Linked DNA regions of Homo sapiens: regions 1, 2, 3 and 4 are each linked to region 5. The links are contacts of gene promoters, found by promoter capture Hi-C in human tissues and cell types (Jung and others, 2019). All regions are on one chromosome and are shown on one strand. Each heading gives the region's core, a stretch centred on a gene start or on the middle of the fragment in contact. The rest is flanking DNA. Distances are from core to core; before and after follow the strand shown.

Evidence for each region. The method cuts DNA at HindIII sites, captures the fragments that hold promoters and counts their contacts. A contact is called where the count stands out against the background at its distance.
Region 1: a fragment that was not itself captured here is called in contact with the fragment with the promoter of RFC3 in region 5 in 1 of the 25 tissues and cell types used here (dorsolateral prefrontal cortex).
Region 2: a contact is called between a fragment that was not itself captured here and the fragment with the promoter of RFC3 in region 5, in 1 of the 25 tissues and cell types used here (lymphoblastoid cells).
Region 3: a fragment that was not itself captured here is called in contact with the fragment with the promoter of RFC3 in region 5 in 1 of the 25 tissues and cell types used here (dorsolateral prefrontal cortex).
Region 4: a contact is called between a fragment that was not itself captured here and the fragment with the promoter of RFC3 in region 5, in 1 of the 25 tissues and cell types used here (dorsolateral prefrontal cortex).

The regions. Positions count from the first base shown.
Region 1 is chr13:34,922,234-34,925,280 of GRCh38, forward strand. No RefSeq gene overlaps it. Among named protein-coding and RNA genes, the nearest start is that of NBEA, 19 kb to the right of the region's middle. The HindIII fragment of the contact is 3,686 bases long and covers 1-3,047 here.
Region 2 is chr13:32,402,570-32,405,442 of GRCh38, forward strand. N4BP2L1 (NEDD4 binding protein 2 like 1) reads right to left here. Exons shown (of 5, transcript NM_052818.3): 4 at 1,752-1,828; 5 at 1-631. The coding sequence ends at 373. Among named protein-coding and RNA genes, the nearest start is that of N4BP2L1, 24 kb to the right of the region's middle. The HindIII fragment of the contact is 4,723 bases long and covers 1-2,873 here.
Region 3 is chr13:34,998,527-35,001,606 of GRCh38, forward strand. All of the region lies in intron 1 of NBEA (neurobeachin), which reads left to right. Among named protein-coding and RNA genes, the nearest start is that of NBEA, 58 kb to the left of the region's middle. The HindIII fragment of the contact is 4,629 bases long and covers 1-3,080 here.
Region 4 is chr13:35,197,533-35,200,596 of GRCh38, forward strand. The region is part of intron 31 of NBEA (neurobeachin); the gene reads left to right. Among named protein-coding and RNA genes, the nearest start is that of NBEA, 260 kb to the left of the region's middle. RefSeq lists an enhancer at 603-2,751. The HindIII fragment of the contact is 3,208 bases long and covers 1-3,064 here.
Region 5 is chr13:33,816,855-33,819,554 of GRCh38, forward strand. RFC3 (replication factor C subunit 3) reads left to right here and starts at 1,295. Exons shown (of 9, transcript NM_002915.4): 1 at 1,295-1,411. The coding sequence starts at 1,325. The HindIII fragment of the contact is 5,146 bases long and covers 476-2,700 here.

The DNA.
Region 1 (3,047 bases), core at 247-2,746, 1.1 Mb after region 5:
CAAGTGATCCGCCTGCTTCGGCCTCCCAAAGTGCTGGGATTTCAGGCGTGAGCCACTGCGTCTGGCGGCAATTCTTCTTTCAACTTAATCAGCCCTTATATACTCAAAGAGTTACTTGGGTGCACACTTTCTCATTACCTATTTTTGTCATTGCATATATCTGAGGAAGGATAATGAAACTCTACTATCAGTAGAAGGATGCTTGGATTATGAAGTGCAACACTTTATAGCCTATCTTGACTCTTCTCCCAAACTTCATAGAAGTAAAGATGGGATTTTCTGAGTCTTTTTAACTTCCTAGGACTGGAGAGCCAGGAAGACAGAATAAAGGGGGAAAAGGGGCCTTACTTTTAACTTGGTACAAAGTTTATAATGGGAACGTAACAGTTTCAGAAAGCAGAATAGAAGAATCTTAGTAAAGAAACCAAGACAGGCAGCTTCATTTAACATTCTGCTCTTGAACTCATACTTTTATTATATACTTATATGTAGGGTTATTCTGAGGACCTACTATTCATTTTTCAAATAATTTATATTTTAATGTGTTTACATAGGTAATTTACATGACACTATTTTTAGAAATCCTGACCTATTTCAACCTGTCATGATTATCTATGGCTTAATTTCTTTGAAAAGCAATGAAGTCTCTCTCTGGAATCTAGCTATAATGATCTCTAATTTTGTAGTTCTCTAACTTGTTCACACACTTAGAATGACCTTTTATGCCTTTCCAACTATGACATCTTCAATTGTTCTATGGTTTGGGTTCAAATGTTCACAAATACATAGTGCTGAAATGCATATTAAACACATATAAACAAGGGAGAAGAGAAGTTGACACAGAAACAGTAATACACAGTGTTCCAACCAATCCATGTAAGTTGCAATTTCTGGTTTCATATCTCATAATTCAAAATCCTGGAGAGCTGCCACTGAATCATTTCTTCTCCTAATCATAAATACCTAGACCTGATACACCAGGGAATATCAGGATCTTGAAAAAAATGAAATAATGGAATAACAAAATAGCCTCAGGAAAGCAGCCTAAATATATTTTGTAGGTAGGTAGGTAGGTAGATAGATAGATAGATACCTAGATAGATAGATATTCCAAGACTATAAAACTATGAACCAATTTTTAAAATAATATAATCTTCTAATATTATGTTGAGTTGTGATCATCTGCTTATGTAAAATTCAAGACACATTCAAAGAGATCCTTCAGTGATAATGTTTTAAAAGAAGGAAAAAGTTTTAGATGCTACTTGAGAAAAGGACAAAGTATAGCTGGAGTTTCTCTTTCTTCCGTTGTTATTACTTAATTACACTATCTTTCTGGCCACAAAATGAACAAAAAGATTCATTCACTTGTGTCATTAGGTACTAAGCATCAGCTGTCGATTCATTCATTTCACACATTTTACTAGTGACACTGAATACTGCAGAGCCAAAGATGAAAGGGGAAGCAATCCACAGGCCAGTGAGAAGATGCATGATTGCCATTCAGGTACTGAGGGCTGCAACGGAGGAAGGGCGGTGAGGGCACTAATGAATTCTTGCTGTGTTCTGGTTGTTTTCTTATCCTAATAACAGCTCCCTGGAAATGGTACTATTAATCCCTAAAGAAACTAAAATTCAGAGAGATTAAATGACTTTCCCAAAATCACAAAACCAATATGCAATAGAGCCATAAATCCAATTCAGGCCTATCTCATATCACAATTATTTTCTGTCTGCTACACCAAGTGGCCTCCTTCAGTTTTGCAAGACGCCCTCAGTGCCAAGGCATGAGCCCTGACCAGGGAGTCAGAGAAACTTTTTCTTTCTTTCTTTCTTTCTCTTTCTTTCTTTCTTTCTTTCTTTCTTTCTTTCTTTCTTTCTTTCTTTCTTTCTTTTCTTTTCTTTTCTTTTCTTTCTCTTTCTTTCTTTCTTTTTCTTTCTTTCTTTTCTTTCTTTCTTTTTCTTTCTTTCCTTCTTTCTTTCCCTTTCCTTCCTTCTTTCTTTCTTTCCTTTTTCTCTTTCTTTTTTCTTTTTCTTACTTTCTGTCTCTCTTTTTTTCTTTTTCTCTTCTTTCCTTTCTTTCCCTTCCTTCCTTCCTTTCCTTTTCCTTTTTTTCTTCCTTCCTTCCTTCCTTCCTTTCTTTTCTTCCTTTCTTTCTTTTTTATTTGATGGAGTCTCACTCTGTAAGCCAAGGTGGAGTGCAGTGGTGTGATCTTGGCTCACTGCAACCTCTGCCTCCCAGGATCAAGTAATTCTCCAGCCTCAGCCTCCTGAGCAGCTGGAATTACAGGGGTGCGCCACCATGCCTGGCTAGTTTTTTGTATTTTAGTAAAGACGGGGTTTCACCATGTTGCCCAGGGTGGTCTCAAACTTCTGACCTCAGGCGATTCACCTGCCTCAGCCTCCCAAAGTGCTGAGATTCAGAGAAACTTTCATGGAGGGGGGACAGATGGAGTCAAGTCTTGTGGGGTGAACAGGAGTACCACAGGTAGAACGAGGTTGTGAAAGATTTTCCAGACAGTTGGAAGAGCATGTGAAAGACAGATTTTGAGAAAGTCAAGTCTGGGGAACTGCAAGCCTTTTGGCACAAGAAAGCCACTGTGGATTGCAGAGGCAGGATGCCTAGATTCAAATCCCAACTGGTACACTTCTAAGCTTTGTAACTTTGGCAAGTTTTTACCCTCTTTTTTCTTATCTATAAAATATAGATAGTAATAGTACCTACCTAATAAAGTTGTCAAAGAGTAAATGATATAATATATGTGAAGCATTTTGTCCAGTGATAGGAACCCAGGAAGGGCTCCATGAATATTATATATTATTATTATTCTAAAGTAGCTGGAATACAATGTTCAAAGGAGAGAGTGGCAGGAGACAAGTTTGAATTGAAAGATTGAGGCCAGAACATAAAGTGCCTCCTATATTATATTTTATATAATTGAAACATCATTGAAGGATTTAAGTGCTATTTATGTGTATGTGTGTGTTTTATATAATTAATTCTAGTTCAACATTTTAAAATATCTTTCTGATGTCACTGTGAACAA
Region 2 (2,873 bases), core at 172-2,671, 1.4 Mb before region 5:
TTCCTGAAAAAATAAATAGATCACTTCAGAGCAAATGGTACTGAAGCTTATATATAATATAAACACTTTATTTCATCTATGAACCTATGTAAATATATTCTTGGGTGTGTTCTCAAGTTTTGGTTTCAAATTCTTACCCTAGAGAAAGAGACTGTTTACTCAAATCTGCAGAATTCCCAGCATCAGACCATGCATATAGAAGCACTTTAACAAATTTTGGTGAAGAAAGTGAATATAATGACTTTGCTCAGAAACTTTTGAGTTCAGCTATTTACACTGGAATTGGAGCTCTGACTAAAATGCAACAAAAAATAACAAAAACTGAAGTAGAAACTGACTTAGGAAAATTCTGCCTGGCTGTAAGATAGGCCTCTAATATCCATGGTGACAACCGCCCCTTCTGTGATAGGAGCTCTCATTTGTAAATCCACCGTGGGCCCTCCGGTTTGGAAACTCTGTGTAGGAATTCCAGTATCTGGCATTGTTGGAAGGCAATGCATTATTCCTGTCCTGGTTTCTGTTCATTCTGCTTGGCTTTTCTGCATGAAGCACACTGTGAAAAGTAACATCGTGTTCATACCGTTCTTTCATTCGGTGGATTTTTTCTCTTGAGACACCATGAATGTTTCTTCTACATGGAAAAAAAATGCATTTAGTTAAGGCAGGATACCACAATGAGTTACTTATATTTTACAAGTCCTCTAGTATTGCAGATATTGCAGTCCCTGTTCTCAGGACCTAGCTCTGGCAAAAGCATAACAAACATCTTGTTCAGCAGTTCTCTTTCAGCCTCCACTCATGTTTTTCATGCTGCCCTGCACACCCCCAAACCACCCTGAGGCTAGCAAGGAGCTAAAGCTTCAGAAATGCTTTGTTTCTGGTCCTCTCAATTACGTGCTTCAAGACATAAAAGAACACCATGAGATTTTTAAAAAATCATACATTTGCCTGTTAATGTCATGCATATATCTATCTACTTATGTTAATCAGTCCCTGAGATATATTTCTAGGAGATACTTATTAAAACAATCTTAAATTCTAGTGGGCAGAAGAATCAACTGGGGATATAGTTAGAAATATAATTACCAGAGATTCCAACTACTGAATGGGGTCCATGAACTCGGATTTTAATAGCCACCTGAGGCAATTCTGATGGAGTAGTCCACAGATCCACTTTGAAGACACTATCTGCCTATTACCATAAGAGGAACCAGCCTTACTCCTAAGAAGTAAATTCTTACCTCACTGGCTATTTTAAGTCAATGACATTATCAAATAATACAGACAGAGAATATCTGAACCCATGCATTCAATCAACAAGTTAGTATTATTTGAACATTTATTGCTTTATAAATTAGAAGCAGCATCTAGATCATAAATGAATCGCAGACTGCTCAACCTCTAAAGATCTTTAGCCTAAATGCAAAAACACCATTGACATGTGCAGTCCCATGCAGATAAAGTGCTTTTAAATGTTCCTTGATGAAGAAGCATTTTAGCAGAATGTTAAATGCATCCTTTTAAAGGACCAAGTCCAAGCCAAGATTTAGCATTTAGCATTATATTAGAAAACTGACCCAAAACTAAAGTCTTCACATTAATAATTCCAAAGTTATCAATTTCCAAGAATTACCATTTCTGGCCTGAAAACTACCATGTCCATTTCCAGCCTGAAAAGATTCTTTTGTTCGGTCTGAAATACCTGAAAATAGCAGGATACATAATGAGGAACTAGAAAAACAAAGAAGTACCTTGCTAACTCTTGAACGTTGAATTTCCAGCGAGTGTCAGGTTCTCGGAATATAACTTCATAGTTATTTTCAAGTGCCTGATTTTTCAAAAGTACATAAAACATTGAAGACATAGTATGTATGTTTGGGAATGTTTATGCTGCCATTTAACATTTACTACAAATCTTTTCAGAATTCCTTTTGTTTTACCAGTAATCCAATGCCTTAATTTATCACAATAAATGCAGTTGTTTCATTCCCATACTTAGCCACTCTCATAATTCTCCATGATAAATTTTGCTCAATTTTATCTAGTATGTAGGAAATTTGTAAAGGTTCTTTGTTTTGGACATCTTTAAAAATAGATGACTGAGCTAGTTTAAAACGTCCTGAACACCGGTATGAATGAACTCAGTGACGTCTCAAAGTCACTTATGGGATTTTTGTAGATTTACTTGTCAGATGCCTTGTCCTATTCCTCATGCCTTCCTTTAGAAAGTGGGAGTACCATAGGAACATAACTGGTGAAATAAAAGTGATAGTCACATACTTCACATCATCTTCCTTCCAAAAGTAGCTCTCCCCATTATGCAATACAATTTGGGTCAATGCTCTGGGCCCCATTTCCTTGAGTTTAGAAAACTATTATAATTTCCTTATAAACATCCAAATATTCTTTGCATTCATAAATTGACTACTACTTTATCTCAAACTGAATTTTCTATTATCACTATAATTTATTGTGTTTATAAAACATAGAGTGGAAAGAGCTAAGCAAAAAGGTTTCCTTTTCATTCTTGAGATGGGCGCTTCTCAACTGGGAAGGATTTAAATAACACAACCGGAAACCTCTCATTTCTAAGTCGAATTAATAGCTGAGGATGGCTGAAAAAGATTATACATATCCAGAAGATAAAAAGTAAAATGAGGCCGGGCGCGGTGGCTCACACCTGTAATCCCAGCACTTTGGGAGGCCGAGGCGGGTGAATCACTTCAGCTCAGGAGTTTGAGACCAGGCTGGCCACCACGGCAAATCCCCGTCTCTACTAAAAATACAAATACTAGCCAGGCGTGGTGGTACACGCCTGTAATCCCAGCTGCTGGGGTGGCTGACACACGAGAATTGCTTGAATCTAGGAAGCA
Region 3 (3,080 bases), core at 184-2,683, 1.2 Mb after region 5:
GCCATTTTAGAGGCCTCCCCTCAGGGACGCATTCTCTTTCTCAGGGATGTTCCTTGCTGAGAAAAAGAATTCAGTGATATTTCTCCCATTTGCTTTTGAAAGAAGAGAAATATGGCTCTGTTCTGCCCAGCTCACCGGCAGTCAGAGTTTAAGGTTATCTCTCTTTTTTCCCTGAACATTGCTGTTATCCTGTTCTTTTTTTCAAGATGCTCAGATTTCATATTGTTCAAACACACATGCTGTACAATTTGTGCAGTTAACGCAATCATCACAGGGTCCTGAGGCGACATACATCCTCCTCAGCTTACGAAGATGACGGGATTAAGAGATTAAAGACAGGCATAGGAAATCACAAGGGTATTGATTGGGGAAGTGATAAGTGTCCATGAAATCTTCACAATTTATGTTCAGAGATTGCAGTAAAGACAGGCGTAAGAAATTATAAAAATATTAATTTGGGGAACTACTAAGTGTCCATGAAATCTTCACAATTTATGTTCTTCTGCCATGGCTTCAGCTGGTCCCTCCGTTTGGGGTCCCTGACTTCCCTCAACAACTAACCAAGCTTATATCCTTATGGTAGAAATAGAGACATACTATAAATATTTATAACAAACAAAATTGGGGTAAGAATCCTTCTTTTGTTCTATTGTTTGGTCAGTCAATAAATATATTTTTAAAAATTTTTGTGGGTATATAATATGGGGAATATATGTGTGGAGTACTTTAGATATTTTGATACAGGTGTACAGTGTGTAGTAATCACATCAGGGTAAATAGGGTATCCATCACCTCAAACATTTATCCTTTGGCTCCTTTTCAATAAAAAAATTTTGTTTTCTCACAGCTCTCCCCCAATACTCTCTTTACCCCCTTACCTGAAATCTAAGTGCTTTTTGTTCTCACAAGTCCTCTGTACCTTATGATGAGTGAAGAGCTTGACATTCTCCAGGTATTTTGCTTCTAGACCACTTTTTTAAAAATCACCTTCTTTCAGCAGAGTGTTCTCACTTTGAAATCTGTGTAATACCTGCTTTGCCATGATTGTTCTTATGCTTACTGTCATTAGTGATTTTTTTTAAAAAAATAAGCTTTATAAAAGTGGAAGCCTGTGTGTGAATTTTTCTGTGATTTTTTTTCTTTTTTTGACTCAGCCTTATGGGTTTGAATTCATTTGTTTGAGTATCTCCCTTTAACAACAACAACCTTATGAGGTAGACACTATTATTATCCACACTTAACAGATGTGGGACTGAACACAGTTATATGTTTAGGTAACTTGATAAGGTTATATATCCAGTAAGTACAGTGTCTGGATTTTAACACAGGCATTCTATTTCAAAGCCCAGACTCTTAACCAGTATACAGTACTTACATTCACTGGTAATCAGAACAATGGAAACTAAACTGTGATGCCCATCATCCGTCGGTATGTCTGTATCTATCTTCCTTCTGTCTGTCTACATACCTTTATATGTATTTAGATTATCAACAGATTATCTGCAGCAAAATTGGGTACAGTAATATCTTTAAGGGTCAGGGGAAGATAATTTTGAATTTAGTAATGTCCTATCCAGACATTAACATTTTAGAATAAGATAGACATAAGGACAATTTCAGGCATACAGGGACTCAGAAACTTTTTCATAGATCATTGCTGAAAGAATTATTAATGGATATACTCTAGCAAGAAGGGCAATGAACCAGGAGAAAATAATGGGATACAGGATGTAATGATGCACAAAGAAAGCAGTAAAACATGCTGTTAAATTCAAATATAGTTGAAAAATTTACATGGGAATTGGGAGAGGAAGTATAGAGGACAGTAAAATAGTAAGCTATGGTTCTGGTCCTGTTTCGGAGAAGATAGATATGCTTGCTTGCTAATGTTAAACTTGGTTAGGAAAAGAATAAATCTACATGTAAACTGCTATAATAATACCACCTACAATTTACTAAGCATTTATATGTGCCAGATACTTTGTTAACATTTTACATGGATTATAAGAGATACACACACATTCACTCTATATATGTTATATAGATTATATATTTATAATATATATAACACACACACACACACACACGTTTTAAAAGCATACACAAATGCAGGGATACTGATCGAGCAAGCATTTAATAGCTGTATCCTTTAGGAAATAGAGGGGAAGGGGTTGAGATGGGGAGGTGTGAAGGTCAAGTGGAAAATTTTGCTTTATCTTTATAGATAAATGCTTTTACATTAAAAATGCCATCACATATTATTGTTTTTTTAAAAACCTAAAGAAGTTTAAGCAGATATACCAAAAATATCAATAGCAATTAAATTTGTTTTTTTACTTTCCTTTTTTGTTTTTGTTTTTTAGTGTAATTTTGAATTTCAAAAAAGAAAAAGCCTTGAGAAACACTTGGCAGCAATGATAACATAGTTGGTTTTTTTTTGTTGTTGTTGTTGTTGTTAAGAGAGGAGGTCTTAGTATGTTTCTGAGGTTGAACTTGAACTCCTGGACTCAGGTGATCCTCTCATCTCAGCCTCCTGAGTAGTTGGGACTATAGGTGCTTGTCAATGTGTCTGATTTGTGGCGTAGTTCTTAAATCTTTTCAAACTTCTATTAAAAATAATAACTAGGGTAACTGAAGGAAGAAACAAATGCTGGGTAGGATACAGAGAAAAGGGAACTCTTATACATGGTTGGTAGGAATGTACATTAATACAACCATTATGGACAACAGTATGGAAGTTTCTCAAATAACTGAAAATAGAACTACCATATGATCCAGCAGTCCCACTACATAGGATATATCCAAATGAAAGAAAATCAACATATGAAAGAGATACTTGCACTCCCATGTTTATTGCAGCGCTATTCACAGTACTCAAAAGGTGGAATCAACCTAAGTGTCCATCAGCAGATGAATGGATAAAGAAAATATGGTATATGTGCACAATGGAATACTATTCGGCTATAAAAACAAGTGGAATCCTGTCATTTGTAGCAACATGGATGGAATGGAGGTCATTATGTTAAGTGAAATGAGCTAGGTACAGAAAGATAAATACCACATGTTCTCACTCATATGTG
Region 4 (3,064 bases), core at 297-2,796, 1.4 Mb after region 5:
TTTGAGATGGAGTCTCACTCTGTCACCCAGGCTAGAGTGCAGTGGTGCGATCTTGGCTCACTGCAACCTCCACCTCCTGGGTTCAAGCAATTCTCTCCTCAGCCTCCTGAGTAGCACCTGCCACCACGCCTGGCTAATTTTTGTATTTTTAGTAGAGACGGGGTTTCAACATCTTGGCCAGGCTGGTCTTGAACTCTGACCTCATGATCCACCCGCCTTTGCCTCCCAAAGTGCTAGGATTACAGGCGTGCGCCACCGCACCTGGCCGAATTACCCTTTTAATACACAATATAATTTAAACTTTGCCTGTAAACACTTTTGCCAGTGTTTTACAAATACGTCTTGAAAATCTGTTGTGGAAAATGTTAAGTGGCACTGGTTATCATGCAGAATATAAAGATGAATAAAATTAGTTTTATCTTCTATGAATTTAGAGAGTAGTAAGAAGATGTTTGCAAATAATTGCTATAATAGATAAAATGTGTGGTGTCAGAAGTTTTAAAAAGTAAAAAATGGTAGGACTATAAAATGTAAGAAATATTTTTCTTTTTTTGGTATTTTGGTATTAATATTGTGTTTGGATGTTCATTCATATAGTGATGTTCCCTGGGTGTTCCTTATGATGTTTCACATTTATTTCACCTTTTTCACATATTTGGTTTATGTTTTCACGATATGCCTATATGTGTGTTTATAAGTTTGTATAAACATATGCATGTAAGTATATGTACTTGTGTATTTCTATAAGCCTATAAGGTAATATATAGTAATTTAAGTTTTGTATTCTAGTTAATTTTAAATTATATCTTTAAATGTTGGTAAAATACAAACCAATAAATACAGATGATTATTGTGATTTACATATGAAAATCCAATGAAATAAACATTAAGTAAAATTTTTTGTTTTAATTTGGATTATTGTTAGAATGAGTTTTTTAATTAAAACTTTAAAAAGCAGTCACCTGAGTGCTAATATTCTTAGCTACTCAAAATTTATTATACTTTTGAGAATATTGCTTTAAGAAAAATACAGCTTTTTATGTTCCTATAGCATTTGTACAAAATGCAGTAGGAGTGGAATCATTATTCTAAATTGCATAAGTACAAATGAAATGGAAGAGCACAAAGCATATTTCAGTTCTTTTTAGGAAAAGAGTCTCTAGTGTAGTTAATATATGCAATAGCTCAAGTACTATCAAATGTAAATGATGAGGTGATATTGATGAAAGGAGGGGATTGAGGTCTCGGGGGCGCTGATGACGGATTGAACAGAAGCGGCCTTGCACTGCACGTAACTCAAGTCTGTCGTCTTCACTACTCAAAGCCATAATGGGAGGTGGCAGTTTGAAATGAGTTGCCACGGCAAAGAGTATTATTTTTGAAATGCTTTCACACAAATCACTAGGCCCTGCATACAACTTAGTTTCATGCTTTAATGTCATCAGGAGGCACAAATTGGTGTGTCTAATTGTTTGCCACCTGCCAGCAAAATGAGCTGCCAGCCAGCCAGACGGGTTTGATTGTCTGTCAGCCATTCAATAGATTGAGAGTGACAACATCAAAAATTTAACTTCAAACTCTGAAGCTTTGAGCAGCTTTTCAGAGACATCATCCCCACAAGTGCTTCTGGACCAGTGCATTTTTCAATTATACTTCCAGGGTATTGCTACCATTTGCCTTATCTGTCTTAAGGTAGCTATAATTACATTATGAGGTATATAAACATGTTTCTGAAGCACTAATGTCTGAAATCCAAGTTATGACATGTCTTTTAACATCAGATTGAATTCGTTGAAAATGAGATCCAGGATGACAGGCTTTAGAATGAAAGTCCTGAATGCTACCGGTTTCAAACACAGAATCTATCATGGGTCTTACTTTACCAATAACGTGTTTTTCATTTTAATCTTTAGTTGAAAAGTAGATATAAACTCAGTTGGTCGCTTCTTTGTAACTAAATCACACTCCTAATAATATTGTACAGTCTCAATAGAATTCATGTAGGATTTTACTTTTGTTAACCAGTTGTTTATTGATTATATTGCAGACATGCTAACAATGATTTCCTTATACTTATCCTGGATTTTAAATTTGGAAATAATTTCCTAGAACAACTGGGATAATTTGAGTTATGTTAACTTGTGTTCTACGTCGAGTGTATCTCACCCCTTAGGATGGAGCATTGGTGAATTTCAGTGTTTTGAAGTTTATAATAAAAAATTGCAACATCAAATTCTTAGAAACATTTAGACTTAATTAAAATAAACCTTTTTTCTTTACTATTACATATTTCATCAGATTATGAAATATTACATAAATGTTCTGTACATATAAGGAAAGTACTGATTCTTTTTCTATTTCCTTCAGTCATCTGTGCAGATTAAGTATATATCTTTGATTATACTCAGTGATCCGAACAGATGTGTACTCATGAAGTATTAAAATGCTAGAGATCCTCTAGTACTGTTCTATAATGAGCAAACACTGTATGTAAAGAGGAAATACAATCATAAAACTATAACAATTTTTTCAAAGTTCTGTTACTGTGAGGCAGAGAGAAATATTTATGATGGTTTTATTTTTAACAGAAAAGCTTAATAATCTCATTTTAGAATTCTTAAATCAAGTTGCCAAGTTCTCTAACAATACTATCTCTTTAGATAGATTGCTATATTTATCGATGGTTTATAAAATGTTTTAATTGAGCTATTATTTTTCATGTACTGTGTAACTTTTACTTTGGAGTAATGCTTTTATCTAAAGCCACCAATTAACCTTTTACTTACCTTTTAAACTAAAAATTTAATCTTATATATCTGCATGCTTTTTATCTTTTGAGTGTTTGGTATATATATATATCTATGTTTTGGTTTAGTTTTAACTTCCTAGGATTTCCAGAGATTCCCACTTAGTTTGAACAAAAGACAAAAAAAAAAAAAAATAGAGGGCAATGTGCTTCTCATACATTTTTAACTGTTAGTATGTTTTTAAAAATTGTTTTAAGTGTGTGATATCACACAAAGCTTATAGTTGTGTTGCTTCTTTGGCTAACAGACCTCAAACT
Region 5 (2,700 bases), core at 45-2,544:
CCACAATTCAGTATCCCTGCTTCTGATTTCCTTTACCTTCTCATTTCAAACACTTCCTCCATTTCAATTCCAAAGGAGAGAAGCATAAAGAAGATGAAGCTTTTTTGCAATATTAAATAGGGTGGTCAGGGAAGCCTCAGTGAGGAGATAATACTTGAGCCAACATCCTGAAGGAAATGAGGGACCCAACTCTGCTGACTGGAGAAACATAGTCCAGGAAGAGGAAACAGTAATTGCAAAGGCCCTGAGGCAGAAGCCTTCCAGGCTTATTATAGAAAGTTTCTCGAGAACAGGGATTAAATCTTATACTTGGTGGTGTGGATAATACCTTACCTGCAGGAGTAATTCATGTAATATGACGATTCATAGAAGAACATGATAAATTATTGATTAATAAATGAGTAAGAGGCACCTTGGTGAAAGGTTATTAAGTATATTTGGAAATCATTTCCTGCCTGTAAGACCTTGCAATCAAATGGCAGGACTTAGGGTTCTTAATAATACATAAAATAAAAGCATAAATTAAATAAGGAATTAATATTATGTACAATGAGTAAAGTGCATTTTGAGAGGCACTATTTGAAGAGAACTTCAAAAGTTGCATATCAACTTCATATGCAGAATATTTTTCTGAGGGGTTCAGATGCTTCTACACATTTTAATTGGAGGGCTTTCAAATATTCTAGACTTAGAATGCATATTAACCTCGTGTCTTCTCCCCTACAGACCACATTTGGGTAGTTTTTCCATGCTCTTGATTCTTTTGTTTCTAATCCAATAAGAATATTGAGGAATAGAGGTAACAAAGGATAGTGAAGATCAGACATTTTCAAGCGATTCATCCAATGAAGCTTTACTGGGTACCTGCCAAGTGAGTGAAACCCTGAGATGTATATATTCTAGTGCCGAGGACAGAGTTCCACACCTAGCAGATATTTAGTAAATTTTTGTTGAATGAATTAAGTGAATGAAAGAATGAATAAATGAAAGGAACGGTCTTCTCTGAGGTATCTGGATGTGACGCCAAAAGGGTCAGAACCACATTTTCAATTCCGCTTGATAATTTCTAGAATATAATAGACGGTGCGAACAAAGAGAAAATAAATAAAGCAGTGAACTTCAGAACTAGAGGGCATCGACGCGGCAGCTGATTTTGTCTGCACACGGCCCCCGTAGCCTTTCCGTCCAAAATCATTTACGCGGCCGCGACCGGTAGTGACGTCACGAGATTTGGAGCTCGCGGGAAAACTTGTCTCTGCGTTGTGGGGAGGACGCGCGCTCGCGCGGGATTTTCAAGCGTAGGCCCCCGGGAACTCGAGCTGCCATGAGCCTCTGGGTGGACAAGTATCGGCCCTGCTCCTTGGGACGGCTGGACTATCACAAGGAGCAGGCGGCCCAGCTGCGGAACCTGGTGAGTCTGCGGGGGCCGGGAGCGTGGGAGAGGGGAGGCCCCCCGGCTCGGGGTTTCGCGCCCCCCTGAGGAGCAGTGCTTCTCCCGCCCGCATTGGAAGGTGATAAGTGCTATGGAGAAAAATAACACAGGGAAGGGGGAAGAGGTGTGGGAGGCTGGCTTGTATTTTTAAACAAGAAAAGCTCCACTGAGAAGTGGCATCTGAGCCGAGACTTGAAGGAAATTGAAAAGTCATAAATACAGAAATCCGAGCAAAGAGTGGAACAGGTAAGAGGGGACAGCAAGTGCAAAATTCCCGGGCAGGGATGTGCACGGCATGTTCTAAGAACCTCAGGAGGCCGGCGTAGCCGATAGTGGTGAACCAGCGGGAAGGGTAATCGGAGATGGGTGTATGTGTTGGGATGGAGTTGGAGTGCAGACCCAGTCAGTCTCAGAATAAGACGAGAAGCCGTTGGAGCATTTTGAGCGGAGATGACACCATGTGATTTACTTTCTAGCTGGCTTAAGATTTCTCGATGTCATTGTCATTTACAAGTAAAGTGTTGTAAATATGTATTTACTCCAAAGATCGTTTCTAATTCTCAAATAAATTGTATTAGGACGTTCCTGAGATTAGTTTTTTTTTTTTTTTTTTTTTTTTTTGAGACGGAGTTTAGCTGTTGTCGCCCAGGCTGGAATGCAATGGCGCGGTCTCGGCTCACTGCAACCTCCGCCTCACGGGTTCAAGCGATTCTCCTGCCTCAGCCTCCCGAGTAGCTGGGATTACAGGCGCCCGCCACCACGCACAGCTAATTTTTGTATTTTTCAGTAGAGACGGGGTTTCACCACGTTGGCCAGGCTGGTCTCGAACTCCTGACCTCAGGTGATCCGCCTGCCTCGGCCTCCCAAAGTGCTGGGATTACAGGCGTGGGCCACCGTGCGTGGCTGAGATTAGAGCTTTGTGAAAGATCCTCTCCCCTCTATCCTGATGCCTCTTTGTCTGTTGTAGTTGATAAAAGTGCCCAATGGCAATATTTTGTGAGAACGAACTGAATCTTCCAGGGAGTAGAGAGTAAAGAAGGATCTTTAGGAGAATAAAGTGTCTGTGGAAGACATTTATCCACTCCTTTTAAGGAACTCAAATTAATATATGATGCTGATGGAAACGTTTTTGCCCAATACCCTGGTTTTCCCTTCCGACCTTTCTTAGATTTACAGATACTATTTAATTAAGTGCGTCTTAAAAATAAGAAATAATAAGAAAAGATTGTACACGTAAAAATCATTAGACTAGTTGATAGTGTTGTGAC